Regions from separate parts of the Homo sapiens genome. Here all the other regions are linked to region 2. The links are contacts of gene promoters, found by promoter capture Hi-C in blood cells and fetal thymus (Javierre and others, 2016). All regions are on one chromosome and are shown on one strand. Each heading gives the region's core, a stretch centred on a gene start or on the middle of the fragment in contact. The rest is flanking DNA. Distances are from core to core; before and after follow the strand shown. Region 1 overlaps SERINC1 (serine incorporator 1). Region 2 holds the start of KPNA5 (karyopherin subunit alpha 5). Region 3 overlaps REV3L (REV3 like, DNA directed polymerase zeta catalytic subunit). Region 4 overlaps HSF2 (heat shock transcription factor 2). Region 5 has its middle 5.9 kb from the start of SERINC1.

Region 1 (3,234 bases), core at 644-3,143, 5.8 Mb before region 2:
TTACTGTCACTTTAATGCTAGTCTTGAAATCAGGTAGTGTGTCTTTTAACTTTGTTCTTTTTTCAGACTTGTTTGAGCTATTCTGGTGTTTTTTGCCTGTTCAGCTAGTTTATTTCTGTAAATCTGATGTTGGGATTGTGATTGGAATTGGGCTGAATCTATAGATAAGTTTGGAAAGACCTGATATCTTGAAAATAATTGTCTTCCAACTATGAACTCTGTATATTTTGCCATTCATTTAGGTCTTTGATTTCTTTCACCAATGTTTTGTAGTTTTCATTATTTGAGATCTTGTCTATGTTTTGTTAGATTTATAACTATTTTCTTTTTGTTTTCAGTTATTACTAATACGTAGAAACATGATTGTGTATATTGACTTTTTATCATGTGACCTTATTAAACCGATGAGTTAGTTCTAGTTGCATTTTTGTAGGTTCTTTGTGGGGTATTTTTATTGTTTTTATTTGTTTTGTTTTGTTGTCATCCAGACTCGAGTGCAGTGGCGCTATCATTGAACTCCTTGAACTCCTAGGCTCAAATGGTCCTCCTGCCTCAGCTTCCCAAATTGCTGGGATTACAGGTGTGAGCCATGGTGTATGGCCCTCTTTGGGATTTTCTATATAGACAGTTGTGTTATATGTGAAGAGGGCAGTTTCGTGTCTTCCATTCCAATTTTTATGTTTTATTTTCTTTCTTGCCTCATTATATTGGCTGGGACCTCCAGTGTGAAGTTGAATTCAAATGGTGAGAGAGGTATTTTGCCTTGTTTGATGTCTTACAGGGAAAGCATTCAGACTTTCGTCATTAATTATGGGTGAGAGCTATAGGTATTTGTAAATGCCATTTATCAAGTTAAGGATGTTATCTTCTATTCTTTGCTGACAGTTTATATCATGAATAGGTATTGAATTTTGTCAAATGGTTTTTCTGTATCTATTGAGATGACCTTGTTTTTTTTCTTTAGTCTGTTTATACAGTAGAGGTCATTGGTTGATTTTTAAAAGTGGAACCAGCCTTGCTTTTCCAGGCTAAACTCTACCTGGTGGCAATATATTATCCTTTTTATATACTTTCATATTGCTGTTTTTGACTTGCTAAAATATCATTAAGAATTTTTTTGTGTATGTTTATGAGGGATATCGGTCTATTATTTTCTTATGATGTCTTTGGATTTAGTCTCTGTAATTCTGGCCCATTTTTTTAAATAAGAAGAATATGTCTCTTTCATATTCCTTTGTATGCAAATCCAAATTTCTCTCTGGTATAATTTTCTTTCTTGGAGGATTTCCTTCAACATTTCTGGTAGTTTAATTCTGCTTGTTTGGATTATTTTGTCTTTTCTATTCCTGAAAATGTCTTTATTTTGCCTTAATTTTTGGAAGATATTTTCACTGAGTATAAAATTCTTTTTTTTTTTTATTATACTTTAAGTTTTAGGGTACATGTGCACATTGTGCAGGTTAGTTACATATGTATACATGTGCCATGCTGGTGCGCTGCACCCACTAACTCGTCATCTAGCATTAGGTATATCTCCCAATGCTATCCCTCCCCCCTCCCCCAACCCCACCACAGTCCCCAGAGTATGATATTCCCCTTCCTGTGTCCATGTGATCTCACTGTTCAATTCACACCTATCAGTGAGAATATGCGTACAAAATTCTATGTTTACATATTTTTTTCTTTCGGTACTGATTTTAGGCTTGAACCGTTTCTTACTAGAAGTGTGATTTATTTCTTTGTTCCTCAGTTTATAATGTACATTTTATTTTTCTGCCTACTTTTAAGATTTTTCTGATTATTACTTTTTTAAGTAATTTGATTATGATGTGACTTGGTGTGGTTTTCATGTTTATTTTGCTAGGGCTTTGTTGAGTTTCCTGGATCTGTGAGTTTATCGTTTTCATAAATTTGGAAAAATTTGGGCAATTACTTCCTCAGAAGCACCTTTGTGTCACTTCTCTCCAATTGAAGTTCATTTCAGGGACTCTAATTTCACTTATATTAGGCTATTTAAAGTTGTCTCACAATGTTCTGATCCTTTTCTTATTTTTATCTCTCTTTCATTTTGGATCATTTATTTTCTTATGTCTTCAGGTTCATTATTAATCTTTTCTTCTGTCTTGTCAATATTTAGGGGGCTTATTTTATCATCTGGAGAAGTATGATATGGGTCTTAATTTTAAATTATCTTCCATGTCTGTCCGTAACATTATCAAGTTTTCCTCTACTTCCTTGAGCATGTGATATATACTTAACAGTAATACTACAATGCCCTATTTATAAATGAACTCAGTTATCTATATCATTTCCAGGTTGATATTGACTGATTGATCCTCATTATAGGTTGTATTTTTCTGGTTTTTGCATGCCTGCTAATTTTTTGTTAGCTTTCCAGTGTAAATTTTTCCTTGATCAGCGCTGGATATACTTTTATTTTCAAAAAAATATTCTTGGGCTTTTATCTTTGACTTGGGTGATTTTACTTAGAGACAGTGTGATCTTTTTATTTGCCTTTAGGTTTCGTTAAGTGCAACTAGTGCAGCCTTTAGTTTGATGGCTGATTTTTCTCCAGTATTAATTGCCTTCTGATATCTTTACCCAATGCCTCATGGATTACAAAGTTTTTCACCTCTGGGTGGTAAAATTCTCAGACCCTCCCTGCAGTGAACATTCTCCCTAGGCAGAAATAAGGGCCACTTGGCTGGGCGCGGTGGGCCACACCTGTAATCCCAGCACTTTGGGAGGCCGAGGTAGGCGGATCACCTGAGGTCAGGAGACCAGCCTGGCCAACATGGTGAAACCCTGTCTACTAAAACTACAAAAAAATACAAAAATTAGCCGGGTGTGGTGGTGCACGCCTGCAATCCCAGCTACTCAGGAGGCTGAGGCAGGAAAATCCCTTGAACCCGGAGTGGGTGGGGGAAGGTTGCAGTGAGCTGAGATCGCACCACTGCACTCCAGCCTGGGTGACAGAAGGAGACTGTGTAAATCAATCAATTAATCAATAAAATAAGGGCCAGTCATAGGGCTCACATTGTCTCCTCTTAGAAATTGCTGGCTTTACATTGCCTGTTGTTCATTGTCTGAAAAACTTATTTTTTCCATTGTTTAAGTCAGGAGGATAAGTCTGGTCATGGTTTCTCCATCTTGACCTGAATTTATAGTAATTATCCCAAGCCTTTTTTCATCAGTAATTTTATGTTTACCTATGTCTGTTTTGTTTCTTGATAG
Region 2 (3,793 bases), core at 1,055-3,554:
TCTATAAAAAGCTAGACTCTTGAAAGGAAAAAATTAGAGATCAGAGTTCATTACAGTGCAAACTGACCACAGTATTAGTTGTTGAATTACGCTCAATATATATAAAATATTTAAGTAAAATAAAATGCTCATGGAAATAAAACTCTTAAAGTATTTATCACCTATATATGTAGCATATTCTAGGCCACTGGCTCTAAACGTTTTCAATCACACATCCTACATTCGTAAAATACATTTGTGCATTCATCCTCAATATATTTATTTCTATACATGCATTACTATTCTAATATACTACTCTAGCATAAAATTCACAAAAAACAGAAATTTTTAAGAATGAAAGTTTTAAAAGGTAAACAAATAGAAGTTCTAATATTTTCTTACCACATCTGACTGGATCACCTTGTGCCCCACCACGCACACATACAAAGGCGCTACTTATGAGACCATTAATCCAAGCAACCACATTGTAACTGTTCAGCATAAATTTTAGCCAAATAAAATACAGCACCAACAACTCAGATATCACTTGTTCCTTTTTCTTCAATAGTACTGACTTCCGGCTTCAGATTTAACACTGCATCCATCCTCACTGCAGTTGCTTTAAAGGGGACAATAAACCAAGGGAAATTATCTCTAAAGGGGCCCCATCCAATGGGATTGTTTCGTTCACTGAAAAATAAATTTAAAGGCTGCACTTCAAAGGCTGAGGTCTCATAAAAATTAAATATTTTTATTTAGAAATGTTATTCCAGCACTTTAAAGTTACAGAATAGAGGAATTTTTTTCATTCATAAGCTTTCAACGGCTCTTAGAAAAACCATGTTTAAGTTGGGCAAATAACTGGAATCTGAACTTATGATTTTCTTTAATATCAATCGACATTATTTCTTATGCCAGTAAAGCCTTCATTTCCATGGGGCTGGGCGCCTCATTAGTGAAAGTAAAAGACTGCACAAAGCGGGGGAAGTGCCAACTAGAGAGCCCTCACAACCAAACAAGCAGTACTTAGGTCGGAGGGAGAGAGTTGCTCCTGACCTACCAAGAAAACCACTTTTGTACAGAATATGAGTCATCATTATTGGGTGTTGTAATTGAGAGATAAATCATTAGTGTTTTTGTCTTTTTTAAAAAACATGTCTAAAAAGCTCAAAAGTAAATGCCAGTGTCATATTCTTTTGTTTGTTTTTTGAGACAGAGTCTCGCTCTGTCGCCCGGGCTGGAGTGCAATGGCGCTCTCGGCTCACTGCAAGCTCCGCCGCCCGGGTTCACACCGTTCTCCTGCTTCAGCCTCCCGAGTCGCTGGGACTACAGGCGCCCACCACCATGCCAGGCTAATTTTTCCTTTTTTTGTATTTTTGGTATTTTTTTTGTATTTATTATTTTGTATTTTATTTTGTATTTTTTGTATTTTTGGTAGAGACGAGGTTTCACCGTGTTAGCCAGGATGGTCTCGATCTCCTGACCTCGTGATCCGCCCGCCTCCGCCTCCCAAAGTGCTGGGATTACAGGCGTGAGCCACCGCGCCCGCCGCCAATGTCATATTCTTTAGACATATCACTGTCATTTCACAGCTTTCAAATACTTCCATCTCCTATGTATTATCGATGAAAACCTAAGTTTTCATCTTAGAACGGAGCTGCCCGACTATTAGAAGCGTGGAACCCAGGCTTGCCTTGTCGTCGGGAATGAGCACTAGAGGCACCTGCACGCAGGTGGAGGAGGGAGGCTGGCGGATGGAGAGGGCGAGGCTAGGAGGCCCTCGGGATGGAACCTGTCTCTTCTTTGGACACTGTGGAATTTCCATAAGCTGCTGGACACAGCTGATGGGTACCAGGTATGAGTGGCAACGTTTGGCAATTCCATTAACTGAAAAGAACTACCGAGAAACGGTGAGGCGGGGCGGCGAAGATGAGACCAGCTGCCCATCACTCCAGAGGACCTGCTGAAAGAATCTGAACTCACCACGCCTTCGCGTCCGCAAGGGAAAGGTCCGGCTGCCACGCCCCCGCGACCGCTGTCGCCCTGGGGAAAACACGAGAAACACCCGGCACCGCCAGGTTCCAGAGACCTTCGCAAAGTAAGGGGTAAATAAAAACCGTGGCCCCAGGAACTAGTAGTTCCCAAAGGGACCAAAACCGAGGCTCCCCCAACCTAGCCCGTGTTCACTCCAACTTACCCATTAATGTGGCACTCTCCGATGCCCTGATTTCCCAGTCCCCAGCGGCGACGTGTGTGGCGGGTAACAGAAGGGCCGCCACTCCGCCCCTGGCGTGAAGCGTAGCGACCCAGTTCGCAATCCAAGATGGCGGCCACCTGCGCCCCTTCTCCGAGACCCCGAGGCTCGGCTCCCAGAAGCCCTTGCACTCGACGCGGCGGCGGCGGCGGCGGCGGCGGCGGCGGCGGAGGAGGAGTGGTGGCCGCACATCCTAGCAGTGGGGCGTAGAGAAAGTGCGCGCCGCCGTCCCACCCACCGAAGGAGGAGCCTGTGCCTGCGACAAGCCCTGGATTTTAGTTGCGCTTGCGGTGGCCATGCTGTAGGTACTCTGCGGCCCGTAGACCTCCGTGTGTGCAAAGGGACGACCCCTCATTCATTCATTCTTCACGCGTGCGTGCATGCATACATTCTTAAGGATATAAACTGTGTCAAGTACCATTTTAGATACATTATTGGGGCTACAACAGTGCAAAAAAGTTGGTAAAAATCGCAGCCTTGTTAAGTGTACGGAGAAGCTCACGTTTTCTTCAGCTTCATTAACTTTTATATGCTCTGCTCGTTTTATTTCAAGCTTTTTGTCATTTATAATTTTATATTCTATAACATCTGCGGTTTTTTGTTTTTGTTTTTCTGTTTTTGGGGGGTTTTTTTTGAGACGGAGTCTGGCGCTGTCACCAGGCTGGAGTGCAGTGATGCGATCTCGGCTCACTGCAACCTCCGCCTCCCAGGTTCAAGCGATTCTCCTGCCTCAGCCTCCCAAGTAGCTGGGACTACAGGCATGCGCCACCACGCCCAGCTAATTTTTGTATTTTTAGTAGAGACCAGGTTTCACCGTGTTGGCCAGGATGGTCTTGATCTCTTGACCTCCTGATCCGCCCGCCTCAGCCTCCCAAAGTGTTGGGATTACAGGCATGAGCCACCACACCCAGCCACATGAGTGTATTTTTGACAGCAATGTAGTCACCAATAAACGAGTAACTTCAGTTAAAGTACTGTAGATTATAATACACAGCCCTGTAATCTACCCTGGAGTTCAACAAACGGTATTGAAAACAGACTGTGTTCCAGATGCAATAGGAAGAGAATAAATAAGATAAACAATACATAAATCCTGCCCAGAAGACGTTTGCAATTTTTTAAGAGGAAAAACATGAAGACAAATTGTTTTAAGATGTTTGCTATTTTCAATAGTTGAAAAATAAACAGGAGAGAAGGGATTATTTAACTGTGGGTATGTAGGGCTGAGAAAGGCACGCTTGACAAAGGAAACCTGGGCAGTGTTACCAGAAAGCGTTGCCAATCATGAGTCCATATAGTGAAGTGAAAGCAAGTTTATTAAAGAAGTAAAGAAACAAAAGAATGGCTACTCCATAGGCAGAGCAGTGGCTTGGGCTGCTGGACTGAGTATATAGTTTTTTTGTGTGTTGTTTGTTTGTTTTGACACGGAGTCTTGCTCTGTCGCCCAGGCTGGAGTGCAGTGGCGCCATCTCGGCTCACTGCAAGCTCCGCCTCCCGGGTTCACGCCATTCTCCTGCCTCAGCCTCCCGAGTAGCTGGAAATTTATTGTATTTTTAGTAG
Region 3 (3,701 bases), core at 1,197-3,696, 5.2 Mb after region 2:
GGTCGCTAGTGGGACATCCCTTGTGTCCCCCAAGTGCCGCTTTCTGGAAACGGGGAAGTGTCAGCCTTGTTGTCAGTCGCTCCCCATGGTCTCTTCTCACCCTCGCTCTCCTCTGCCAGTTCCGGAGATGCAGTGGGCCGGAGAGAGTGGCGCTTGGGGCCAGATAATCTTTCTCACTGGGGTGACCGTGTGGCTCTGCTGTGAGTGCAGGTCGTGACTCCTTAGAGTTTAGTGCCTGAGCGTCGGGGGACAGGGCAGCATCCTTAGGTGCAGTGCTTTCAGGAAATGTGCATCCATGGAAGTAGGAAATGCGTGTTTATGTTGCCCAACCTAAAACATCACACTTAATGGGGTGAATTTATTAGGAACCACAGCCAGACTCAGCAGCACAGACATTTTGAAATGCTCCTAGGCTGGGCTGTAGGATTGCGTTTTAAGTACAGGTATATATTTTTTAAACACAACTATGTTGAAGAAGGGATGGGAAGGGGAGACAGCCGTGACAGAAGGTACGTTCTCAAAAACTCCTGGGGCTTATGATAATATAAAAAAGATAGAGGCCCAGTTTACTAGGTGTTTTAAAATGGTTTTGCTTTTTTGCATGCTTTGAACTGCTTCCATGAAATAATGGAGTTCTAGGAAATAATGCATCTTAGGAAAGGTTGTTCTTCCCTCTAGCTATGAATTGCCCTATGGGATTTTAGATAGCATTTCCCACTTGATGCTCCTTGCCCTCATCACCATTCATCTTATTACTACAGTCAGTTTCTGTGGACTACCAAGATAATAGCGCTTTCCCAAACACAAGCACTCATTTTAAAGCAGTTATCTTTTAATGTGAATTCTCTTTGTTAAAATGTCAATGTTGTGAGATTTGGTAGCATATTCCTATTTAAACTAGTGAATATGATTTTGATATGAACCTTGAAAGATGGGGAATTTGAGTGCTTTTAACGTGTTGAAAGTGTAACACTTGAAACTTTGGAGGCTGGGAAATCGAGGCGATGAAGTGTTCTATAAGATAGGTTTTCTGCCCTTTTAAATATAGTGGTGCTGTCTTTGTTTCCAATTGGAATTTCAGTGTAATGCACTGTTCTCACTTCAGATGCAGAGGAAGGATAAAATAGTGAAGTTGATATGGCCCTGTTCAGCCAAATTTCCGAATCATAAAGTGACATGCTAATAGGATATACTGTGGCATTTCTGTGTATTACAGCTTGTATGGTTTGAGTTACTTTTCCACACATAATTTTTTCTCCTCCACACAAGTCATTAAATATGTTTTCCTGAGAGATAGTCAAGCTTTGTTGTATAGGAAAGTTTCGTTTGTGGAAATAAATGAGTTTCACTGTAAGCTAATGTAATTCTATTACGTGAGGAAATGTTCCTTAAAAAATAAAGAATATTATATACTGTTGTTTTCCTGAATATTTTTTAAAAGACACATTAACTATTTCCTATTTAATCCTTCATGGACATCCCACAATAGATTACCAGCACCTTAAAAAAAAAAAAAAAAACAAAAACGAAAAAACCAAAGACTAAAAACCCCCATTGGGGTTTTTTTTTTGGTACATACTTTGAAATTTATATTTTAAATGAATTAAAAAGTAACACTTTTTATATGTACATTGAAAGACATAAAACTTGATACAGAGAAAGTCAAATTTTAAATTGTTAAGGATTATCAAATTGAATTTGCCATGTAGTTCACAGTTTCCAACAAAATGTTTGTTTCAACAAGAAAAAATTTGAAGTCATTGGCATACATTTAGAGTTTACACTTTTCATAAACCAAGCCAGCATTTTTATTAGCACGTCAGAAACTCCCAGTGAGATTAATATTAATTAAACATAATCAAAAACTGCAGAATTACCTGCTTTTGAATTATCTCCCCAAGGAAAACTAGTCCAATAAAATAAAACTTGAAAATTATTAATATAAAAGAGAGGCCAGTCTGACTTAGTAAAACTCTGAATGCTAGAATTTTTAATGAAGACAGATTTATTTGAAAGTAAAGATGTAAACATAATGCAAAGATATAAACATGGTTTGTATTATATCTTTATAGTTTATATCTTTACTAACAAGTAAAATAAGGTAATAAAAATGTGTAACACATGATAAACCTATGCTACATAAAATAGCATAAACATACTTTTTTCATATATAAGAATTACTTTGGGAGGTCCTTAATGCTTTACTTTGGTTTGGAGAGAAAATGTTTTAAAATTGACTTTGCTTTACAAATGAGATCCTGAAAAATAGCAACCAAAGATATTTTTTCTCAAATGAAGTGGCCGTTTCAAAATTATATTACAAATTCTGAACTGATTGGATTAATACCCTTTTACTAGTTTAGTTTTTCTATTATTGCCTGAAAAGCATTTTTCTGCTTTAGAAAACAGTCCAGTTGACTTTTGATTGTTCTGTGTTTTGAGGACGTATCTTGAGTAATTTAAGAAATAAAGTGTTTTGGGTTTAAAAGCTCCCATGTCTTAAGTTGGTGAAATTTGAAAAGGTATTTTTAAAAAGAGGGATATTCAGGGCTGGGTGCTGTGGCTCATGCCTGTAATCCCAACACTTTGGAAGACAGAGGCAGGAGGATCGCTTGAACCCAGGAGTTGGAGACCAGCCTGGGCGACATAGTCTGTACAAAACAAACAAACAAACAAACAAAATTGGCTGGGCGTGGTGGTGTGCACCTGTAGTACTAGCTATTTGGAAAGCTGAGACAGGAGAATCGCTTCAGCCCAGAAGGTTGAGGCTGCAGTGAGCCAAGATCACGCCACTGCACTCCAGCCTGGGCAACAGAGCAAGAGCCTGTCTTAAAAAAAAAAAAAAAAAAGGCGGGGGGGGATATTCAGATTTGAATGGTAAATCCTGACTGATTTAATCCCTTGCCAACTGAGGATATTGATTCCTAAGGGAATCACTTAAAGTTTCTTCATCTGAGTTATGGAATTTTTTAAAAAACAAAAACAAATTTCCTCTCCATTTTTTTAACTAGTTTTTAAAATGTCTTGAACATTATTTTGACATAATCAAATTGAGCAGTATCATTTGTAGAATAAATTGTTAATTTTTTCTTTTAGAACAACATTTTGGTAACTTGTTTTAATGGAGGGAAGAAAGGTTGTGAATAAAGTATAGGACAATGTTTTTTCATTTAGATTTGAATATAGGTGTGACCACTCAGAGGATTCACTACAAATGAAATCATCAGGCTTCATTTAAGGATTTGACTGAGGTGGACTTGGGAAGCTGTCCATTTTCCACATCTCGACTTTTGCTTAGTTGCTTGATGTAACTCACTTCATGCTGAGTTTAGACAGCTCTCACAGTTTCCTCAGCACCAGGTTAAACAGAACTATCCTTTCAAAGAGCTTCCCTGCTGAGATGCAGAGTAGGAGTAAATAGAAGAGTGTGGGATGTCCACAAAGCAAGGAATTAAACAAAGTAGGCCAGACAGACTATAGAGGGAGCTGCTTGTCTTTAAGATTACTCTAAGGAACTCTGCCACTTCCTCTAGCTTAGTGAATATTTTGGTAGATTGTTCTAGATACTGTTAGCCATGAAATCAAGCTTTTCAACATAAGGAATTGATAATTCTGAAATGCTATATAAGTTTATGTAGATGCTTATCCAATTATAAATATATTCTCATTGTTTATATTTTATAAAATTAAATATAAGAAAC
Region 4 (3,634 bases), core at 268-2,767, 5.7 Mb before region 2:
TTATACTGCTTCACTTCAGCATACGTTGGTTGTAACATTTCATTAACTCGTAAAGGCTGTTTTTTACTATATAACTTCATTTAACCTCTACGGCCTTGTCTCTGAATATCAAGTTTCACCAGTTGCTTCCAAGCTAATATGTGCCCTCTCTTTAGGACACTTAAGATTTAAAACAGTTTTAGGTCGTCTGACAGTACAATCTCTGTACTTGATTCTGACAACAGACTACCAAAGCCAAGAACAGTTATATAAAATTTTACATTTAAAGGAAATGTTAAAAAAAATGAAAACTTTTCATTTTTGTTTTTCAGAAGAGTAAGGAGAAAATGGAAATATGTAAAACATACTTTCTTTTCTTTCTGTTTTTTGTTGTTGTTGTTTTGAGACAGGATTTCGTTCTGTTGTTCAGGCTGGCTTGCAGTAGTGTGATCTCAGCTCATTGCAACCTCTGCCTCATGGGCTCAAGCCATCTCCCCTCTTCAGCCTCCTGAGTAGCTGGGACTAAAGATGCACGCCACCATACCTGGCTACTTTCTGTATTTTTTTGTAGAGACAGGGTTTCACCATGTTGCCCAGGCTGGTCTCAAACTCCTGGGCTCAAGCAACCTGCCCATCTTGGCCTCCCAAAGTGCTGGGATTACAGGCATGAGCCACCACGCCTAGCCACATTATGCTTTCTTAAAGACTGTCTGGAATTAAGGCATTTCTATTATTTTAGAGTCAATAACATATTTAAGTATAATTTCAATTGTTCAGATTATTATATTCTTGTATTTAATGGTGAGAGGTATTATTTCCCTTTTCAATTTTGTCATATTGCAAATTTCGAGGAAAATTAAAGTTATGTACGTCTCCAGAGATATTATCTAGAGATATTACCAACTGCGTTTTCCAAAACGCAATTGGTAAGAGTTTTTTTTCCCTTGCCTTACACTCAAGGTAGAGAAATAAATTATTTTCCACCATTGAAAAAAAAAACTGCACAAAAGCTTGTCTGGTTCCCAAAACAACTGCTTCTTCTAAAAGTTCTCAATGATTTTCATAGTATAAATGCTAAATTACCTCAACAGAAATACAACACAAGTTTGAAGGAAACCAGAAACCACCATAAATAGCAACTTTCAAAAGATGAGAGTACCTGGGCGCCGGTGGCTCACACCTGTAATCTCAACACTTTGGGAGGCCGAGACGGGTGGATCACTTGAGGTCAGGAGTTTGAGACTGCCTGGCCAACATGGTGAAACACTGTCTCTACTAAAAATACAAAAATTAGCCAGGCATGGTGGTGCGCATCTGTAATCACAACTACTCGAGACGCTGAGGCAGAAGAATCGTTTGAGCCCAGGAGGCAGAGGCTGCAGTGAGCCGAGATCGTGCCACCGTACTCCAGGGTGACAGAGTGATACTCTACCACAAAAAAAAAAAACGAATATGATATAGTGTGATATAGTCTCTGCCACTTGGAAATTCAAAGCCTGTTGAGGACTATTATATCATCATTCCTACCACTCTCATTACATTTTCTAGGGTTTCATTTATTCATCAAAGAAAAGAGAAAGATGAAAGTAACTTATTTTGGTTTTTCCACCTAACATTATTGTTAAAGTTTTACTTTTCAGTATTAGCACTGCTTTTAGAAAAATCCATGGAGAGCACAAATGAGACAGCTGCCTAAGCAACTAGGCTTAGCCCTAGACAACATTTATTCAGAATTGTCCATTGACTTGTGGCAAGCAACATTTTGGTATAAAACTAAATATGATGTCAACTTGCATTAAGTCTAGTTCTATTGGTGGAAGACTGATCTGGGAGCTCAGAAATCTATTAGGGTAGGGGTGTCCAATCTTTTGGTTTTCCTGGGCCACACTGGAAGAAGAATTGTCTTGGGCCACACATAAAATACACTAACACTAATGATAGCTGATGAGCTTAAAAGCAAAATTGCAAAAATATCTCATGTTTCTTTAAGAAACTTTATGAATTTGTGCTGGGCCGCATTCAAACCCATCCTTGGCCACATGTGAGCCTCGGGTTGGACAAGCTTATGTTAGGGTCTTATCTCCAATCTTGGCGAGCTGTATAATTATGGATAAATAATCTCACCTGTCCAAGCCTCAAATCCTCATCTATACAATGATAAGGCTAACCTAGATGATCTCTAAGAGTCATTTCAAATATAATTTTATCTTCATCATTCCTACCACTCCATTACATTTTCGAGGGATCTCATTTATTCATCAAACAATTATTAAACACCTAGTGTGTCTCTGGCACAGTGATCTCACTGAGCTTACATTTTGATTGTCCCACTGGCATATTAGAAAATTGGTTAACACATAAGCTTAAAGTTAATAATGGGATTAAAAAATGGTTAAGTGGCTTGTTTATTTGGCTTAGAACTCATAGAATGATGCATTTACGGATCAGTACGAAACTCTCCACATTTGACAGTACTCAGAAAATAAGAATGTTATTAAAACACTGTTGCTAATCAGAATTTAATAGGCCTACCACTGACATGATACTCTGATTAAAAGCAACTGCCAATATATATAGCCCCTATTTCTGGCCCATAAAAGACAAAAAGGTATGATAAAGTCAGCTTTCGTGGGGAGAGAATCTCAGTCCAATCTCTAACACGAATACGTGTCTGAGTAACAGTCTGTACTGATCCTTCTTGTCAACTTTTAATCCTTCTAACTGATGAAAAGCATGAGACATGTGTTTATTTTAAGTACATGCTAGTGGCTGGCTTTCTTATTTTCACCTAGCTTTGTACAATTGTACAGAATTCATTAAATGCTTAATAGAAACACTCACGCCCCCCTACTCAACTCCAAGCAGGGAGTGGGGCTAAAAGGATAACTCAGTTGCTCATAAAGAACACACAAAAATTAAATCCTAGAAGGAAGTCGGAAAAAAGAACAAATAATAACACAAGGCAAACTATGGTATTACAGAAGTCAAAACTTCAGGGTCTTAATATGGTGCTCACTCCCTGTTAAGACAAAAGTAAATAAAACTAAGAGTTCCTATAATAGGAGAACAGGAAAGAAAGGAGGACGGGAGATAACATTTACTCAGCACTTAACAGGTGCCAGGCACTATGCAGGTAGTTTTCACTTATTCTTCTCAAGAACTACACATATGAAAATATGCCTCAATAGGTGATCATCTACAATAAGAGTTAACCACTTTCCTTCATAAAAATGATTCCAACAGCCTAGGAGTGTATTCTAATGCACATGCACTGTGGATGTAAATAATCATTCTGCCTAAAATCTTGTATTTGGGACTGATATAGGTCTTGGGTCACCTAGGCAACCCATCCATCTTATGAAAGATTTAACTTAGGCCAGACAAGATAAAGGGCTGGACTAAGGTCATGCTTGTTTAGAAGCAGAGTTGAGATCAAACCAATAATCAACACATCGATATGCCCCTCTGCTGGTAACTGTTCAGCGAAATTTAGTAACTACTAAGTTACCACCTATTAGTACTTTATTAAAACAATCCTAATAATCCCATTATACAAATAGCACAGAATCTCAAAAGAATAATTTGTTAATTTCTATATATTTTTAAAACCAACTGATAAGCAGTAACCTGCGTTTGAACGTATGTCTATTGCCCT
Region 5 (3,676 bases), core at 192-2,691, 5.8 Mb before region 2:
ATTTCTGTTTTGTGATATTTATCAAAACTATAGAACTGATCTGACTAAAAAGAAAATTTTGAGTTCTAATTGACAGAATTAAAACACATAGTCATAATACTACATGTTGTTTCCTAGGCCACTCAATTAGGATAAGGAACTTTTTTCCCCTTTGTTGATTCTTAGTGCCTCAAAACTCTATAAAGTATGAAGTACCTTTCTCAGGGCAGGATTAAGATATTAAGTTGCTTATTACTGCTTTAATGTGTCTGGGACAGAGCTTCTGAGAGTCTGCCTAGAGAAAGCAAGAAGCCCTGGAAAGGCTCTTAAAAATATTCTTGCAATTAGTCAAGATGGCCCAATAGGAACAGCTCTCTGCAGCATTCAGCAAGTTCAATGTAGAAGGTGGGTGATTTCTCCATTTCCAACTGAGGTACCCAGCTCATCTCATCGGGACTGATTAGACAGTGGGTGCAGCCACGAAGGGCAAGCAGAAGCAGGGTGGGGCATCACCTCACCCGGGAAGTGCAAGGGGTCGAGGAACTCCCTCTGGTAGCCAAGGGAAGCCGTGAGGGACTGTGCCATGAAGAATGGTGCATTCTAGCCCAGATACTATGCTTTTCCCACGGTCTTCACAACCCACTGACCAGGAGATTCCCTCCAGTGCCTACGCCACCAGGGCCCTGGGTTTCAAGCACAAAACTGGGTGGCTGTTTGGGCAGACACTGAGCTGGCTGCAGGAGTTTTTTTTGTTTTTTGTTTTCTTTCTCCAGATTTTAAGCATGTCTCTAAAACACTTTCTCCTATTGGCATTTAATCCATGGTTGTATTCATATAAATATCCAATGGGAAAAGTTCACTATTTTGGACTCCATTTGTATGTGAAAGCTACTTCTTAAAGGATATTTCCCCACCCCCCGCTGCCACATAATATGTTAAGTGACTCTAATTATGTTTTTTCTCTTACTAAAGACTACCATTTGGAATTGCTGAACAATGTGCAGTGTCCAGCCATGCCCGTATCAAAGCATACCATAGAACTGAACTATGGAGTACCCTCCCATGGCATCTAAACTGCTGGATGAGTATTGCTGGGAAGTGGAAATGTGCATAGCATTTGTATAAATGATGCTGGGAATGCTTTCTCCATGGCGGAGAAAATAGGTAGAGAGAATTCTGCTGTCAGCTCTACAACCACTGAGATGATTTTTAAAACTGGATGATTCCTAGAAAGACTGGATTCTGCCACAAAATACAAGTAAGTCAGGCCAGCTAAGGCAGAAAATTTCCTTCAGGAGATGTCGATTAAAAAAATGGCCTGTGGTTGGCTCATAAGCTTCATCTGACATTACATCTTTAAAAAGATAGGACTTTTCTGGAGGAAAGGGACAGACCCATAAGCAATAATGGAAACTAGTGGAAGCCAGCCTTCACTATAACAGGACTCTAGGTGGGAGCCTGCGAAAAATAATAGAACAAATGACACAGCCAGATGCTACCAAACAGCTAAGCCTAGGATTTCTGCAGGTGATGCAAAGCGGGTTACGGGATATGAAGACCTTAATACTAGAAAATATTAGGAAGCTTTATGGAGAAATTAAGACCTTACCAGTGACTTATCAGGTTGGTCCTGAAGGGGTGTCCATACTTTCTTGTCATCACTTTTGAAGTTAAAGCAAATCTTCAACAGGGTAAAAACTGTGAGGAAAAAGTACCCAAAGTTCTTAATCACTCAGTAGAAAGAGCTTTAGGTATGAATTTGCCAAAGTGTTTTACGCAATAATGGACAATACAGTCAGTGGAGTGAGGTGTAGAGAATTGGGTAAGAAGAAAAAATCACTGTCTGAAGTCGCTTGAGATCAGGCCACTTAAAATGTCAGGGCCTCTGGATATCATTCTATTCTTACAATTAATTCTGGAGGAAAGAAAGCAGCTAAGGCCATAGAAATTCAGGTGAATAAAAAAGAAATCAGGATAAATTGGCTAAAATAACATAATGGAATATATGGATTACTGGAAAATAAAGTCAAATCTGGCAAATTTCATATAGTATCATATAGTATAGTACTTTGATAGCCTAAATGATTATCAGAATATAACATTTATCCTTCTTACAAATCTCTCATATCTGATTTTTATATAAGAAATCAATTTAGGTTCAATACCTAAAGCAAATGCACAGGCTTAAAACCACTTTATCTGAAATATCTAAATAACTTATACAAAGAAAAATATGATTGCTTCCTTGTTTAGCTTGTATCACCTGGATAATTGCCTCGACTTTCTCCTTCAGCTTACAGACCTGCATTGTCCAATATAGGGACTACTGGACATTTGAAATATGCTGGTCCAAATGGAGATGTGCTCTTAATTATATAACACAACCAGATTCTGAAGACTTATATGAAAAATAATGTAAAACATTCTATTAAGAATTTTTATATTAATGTCATTGAAATATTTTGGATATAGAGTTCAATTAAATGCATCTTTAAAATTAATTTCATCCGTTTCTTTTAATACATCTACAAAAAATTTTAAATTACAAATGTGATTCACATTTCATTTCTATTGGAAGGTGCTGATTTAGACGTTGCCTTAATAACATGTTTAATAAGAATTCAAAAATCTGATGAGTGCCAAATCGAACTAGTTGATTCCTTTCTGTAGCACAAATAAATAACGTTTTGGGTGAATGAATGTGAAGAATTTCTTCAGTATATAATTTCATTATTTTATCAAGGTCAATACATCTGCCCTTGAAAAGTGAAATGTTTTAGAAATGTCATTTACACTTTTTCAAGAAGTCACTCCCTTCTCAATGATTATAAAATAGTACATTAAATATTAGACACATATTTGAATTTGCTATCCACTTTATTATTTACACAGTGAATATTTCCTTTTTTCCTGAATTTATGTATGTTCTGCCTGAAATAAACTTATTTTTGTAGACATCTATTTCACTGGTATAAACATATCTGCTTGTTATGGAATTATAGGCTTAGATTTCAGCAAAATAAGAAAATCTGTGTGGAAAGAATATTGTTCATTTGCTGTTTTAACATTAAGACCATAATTGAAGAGAGTTTTTGTACATTTGACACTGTATCTTAGTTTTGAATTATTTTCCAAAACTATCAATGTGTGTCTTAACAGATAAAAGCATGTCTTTAATCAGAATATGGTCTCTTCCAATTCTAAGTTTATACTGACCCCTATGGGTTACTGTGTCCTAATCTATTTTTGGCTTATCCTTTCAGAATATCTGTGAAATACTTAAACATGTTTACATTTAAGATATAACTAATTTAGGATAAAAGCCATAAAATACTTTTTATATTTTTGCTCTCCTTGGATTATATAACAAACTATGCACAAATTTTATTCATCCTTTAACTACTGTGGGGGGGCCAAGATGTTTCAGTCCTCATTATATTTAGTGTTGATGTACTAAGGACAAGAGAACTAAGCAGTATAATTTCTAATTTCCAGAAAAATATGACCTGATTATTTTCCTTAAAATCTGTTCCACTCTCACAATATTTCAGAGATATAGATCATTTATTAGGATAAAAAATAAAGTTTATACAGAGATTTGTGTAAAGGCAGGAAGGATTATGGGACCAAAGATGAGTCTAATTTTAGTCAACCTTGATGGAGACACACTGATTCTAGGTTACACTGGGAATTTTTA

The links. The method cuts DNA at HindIII sites, captures the fragments that hold promoters and counts their contacts. A CHiCAGO score of 5 or more calls a contact.
Region 1: a fragment that was not itself captured here is called in contact with the fragment with the promoter of KPNA5 in region 2 in 5 of 17 cell types (total CD4 T cells, total CD8 T cells, naive CD8 T cells and 2 more); the score reaches 13.8 in total CD4 T cells.
Region 3: a contact is called between a fragment that was not itself captured here and the fragment with the promoter of KPNA5 in region 2, in 1 of 17 cell types (total CD4 T cells). The highest score is 6.6, in total CD4 T cells.
Region 4: a contact is called between a fragment that was not itself captured here and the fragment with the promoter of KPNA5 in region 2, in 8 of 17 cell types (total CD8 T cells, total CD4 T cells, non-activated CD4 T cells and 5 more). The highest score is 14.1, in total CD8 T cells.
Region 5: a fragment that was not itself captured here is called in contact with the fragment with the promoter of KPNA5 in region 2 in 2 of 17 cell types (non-activated CD4 T cells and total CD8 T cells); the score reaches 11.5 in non-activated CD4 T cells.

The regions. Positions count from the first base shown.
Region 1 is chr6:122,459,843-122,463,076 of GRCh38, reverse strand. All of the region lies in intron 1 of SERINC1 (serine incorporator 1), which reads left to right. Among named protein-coding and RNA genes, the nearest start is that of SERINC1, 10 kb to the left of the region's middle. The HindIII fragment of the contact is 9,444 bases long and covers 1-3,234 here.
Region 2 is chr6:116,679,722-116,683,514 of GRCh38, reverse strand. KPNA5 (karyopherin subunit alpha 5) reads right to left here and starts at 2,304. Exons shown (of 14, transcript NM_001366306.2): 1 at 2,177-2,304. The coding sequence starts at 2,180. RefSeq lists enhancers at 742-1,723, 1,724-2,707. The HindIII fragment of the contact is 1,991 bases long and covers 798-2,788 here.
Region 3 is chr6:111,478,658-111,482,358 of GRCh38, reverse strand. All of the region lies in intron 1 of REV3L (REV3 like, DNA directed polymerase zeta catalytic subunit), which reads left to right. Among named protein-coding and RNA genes, the nearest start is that of REV3L, 2.7 kb to the left of the region's middle. RefSeq lists enhancers at 195-254, 2,993-3,701. The HindIII fragment of the contact is 2,284 bases long and covers 1,305-3,588 here.
Region 4 is chr6:122,400,355-122,403,988 of GRCh38, reverse strand. The region is part of intron 1 of HSF2 (heat shock transcription factor 2); the gene reads right to left. Among named protein-coding and RNA genes, the nearest start is that of HSF2, 2.5 kb to the right of the region's middle. RefSeq lists an enhancer at 3,542-3,634. The HindIII fragment of the contact is 1,052 bases long and covers 992-2,043 here.
Region 5 is chr6:122,475,852-122,479,527 of GRCh38, reverse strand. It overlaps a transcript of PKIB not described here. Among named protein-coding and RNA genes, the nearest start is that of SERINC1, 5.9 kb to the right of the region's middle. The HindIII fragment of the contact is 248 bases long and covers 1,318-1,565 here.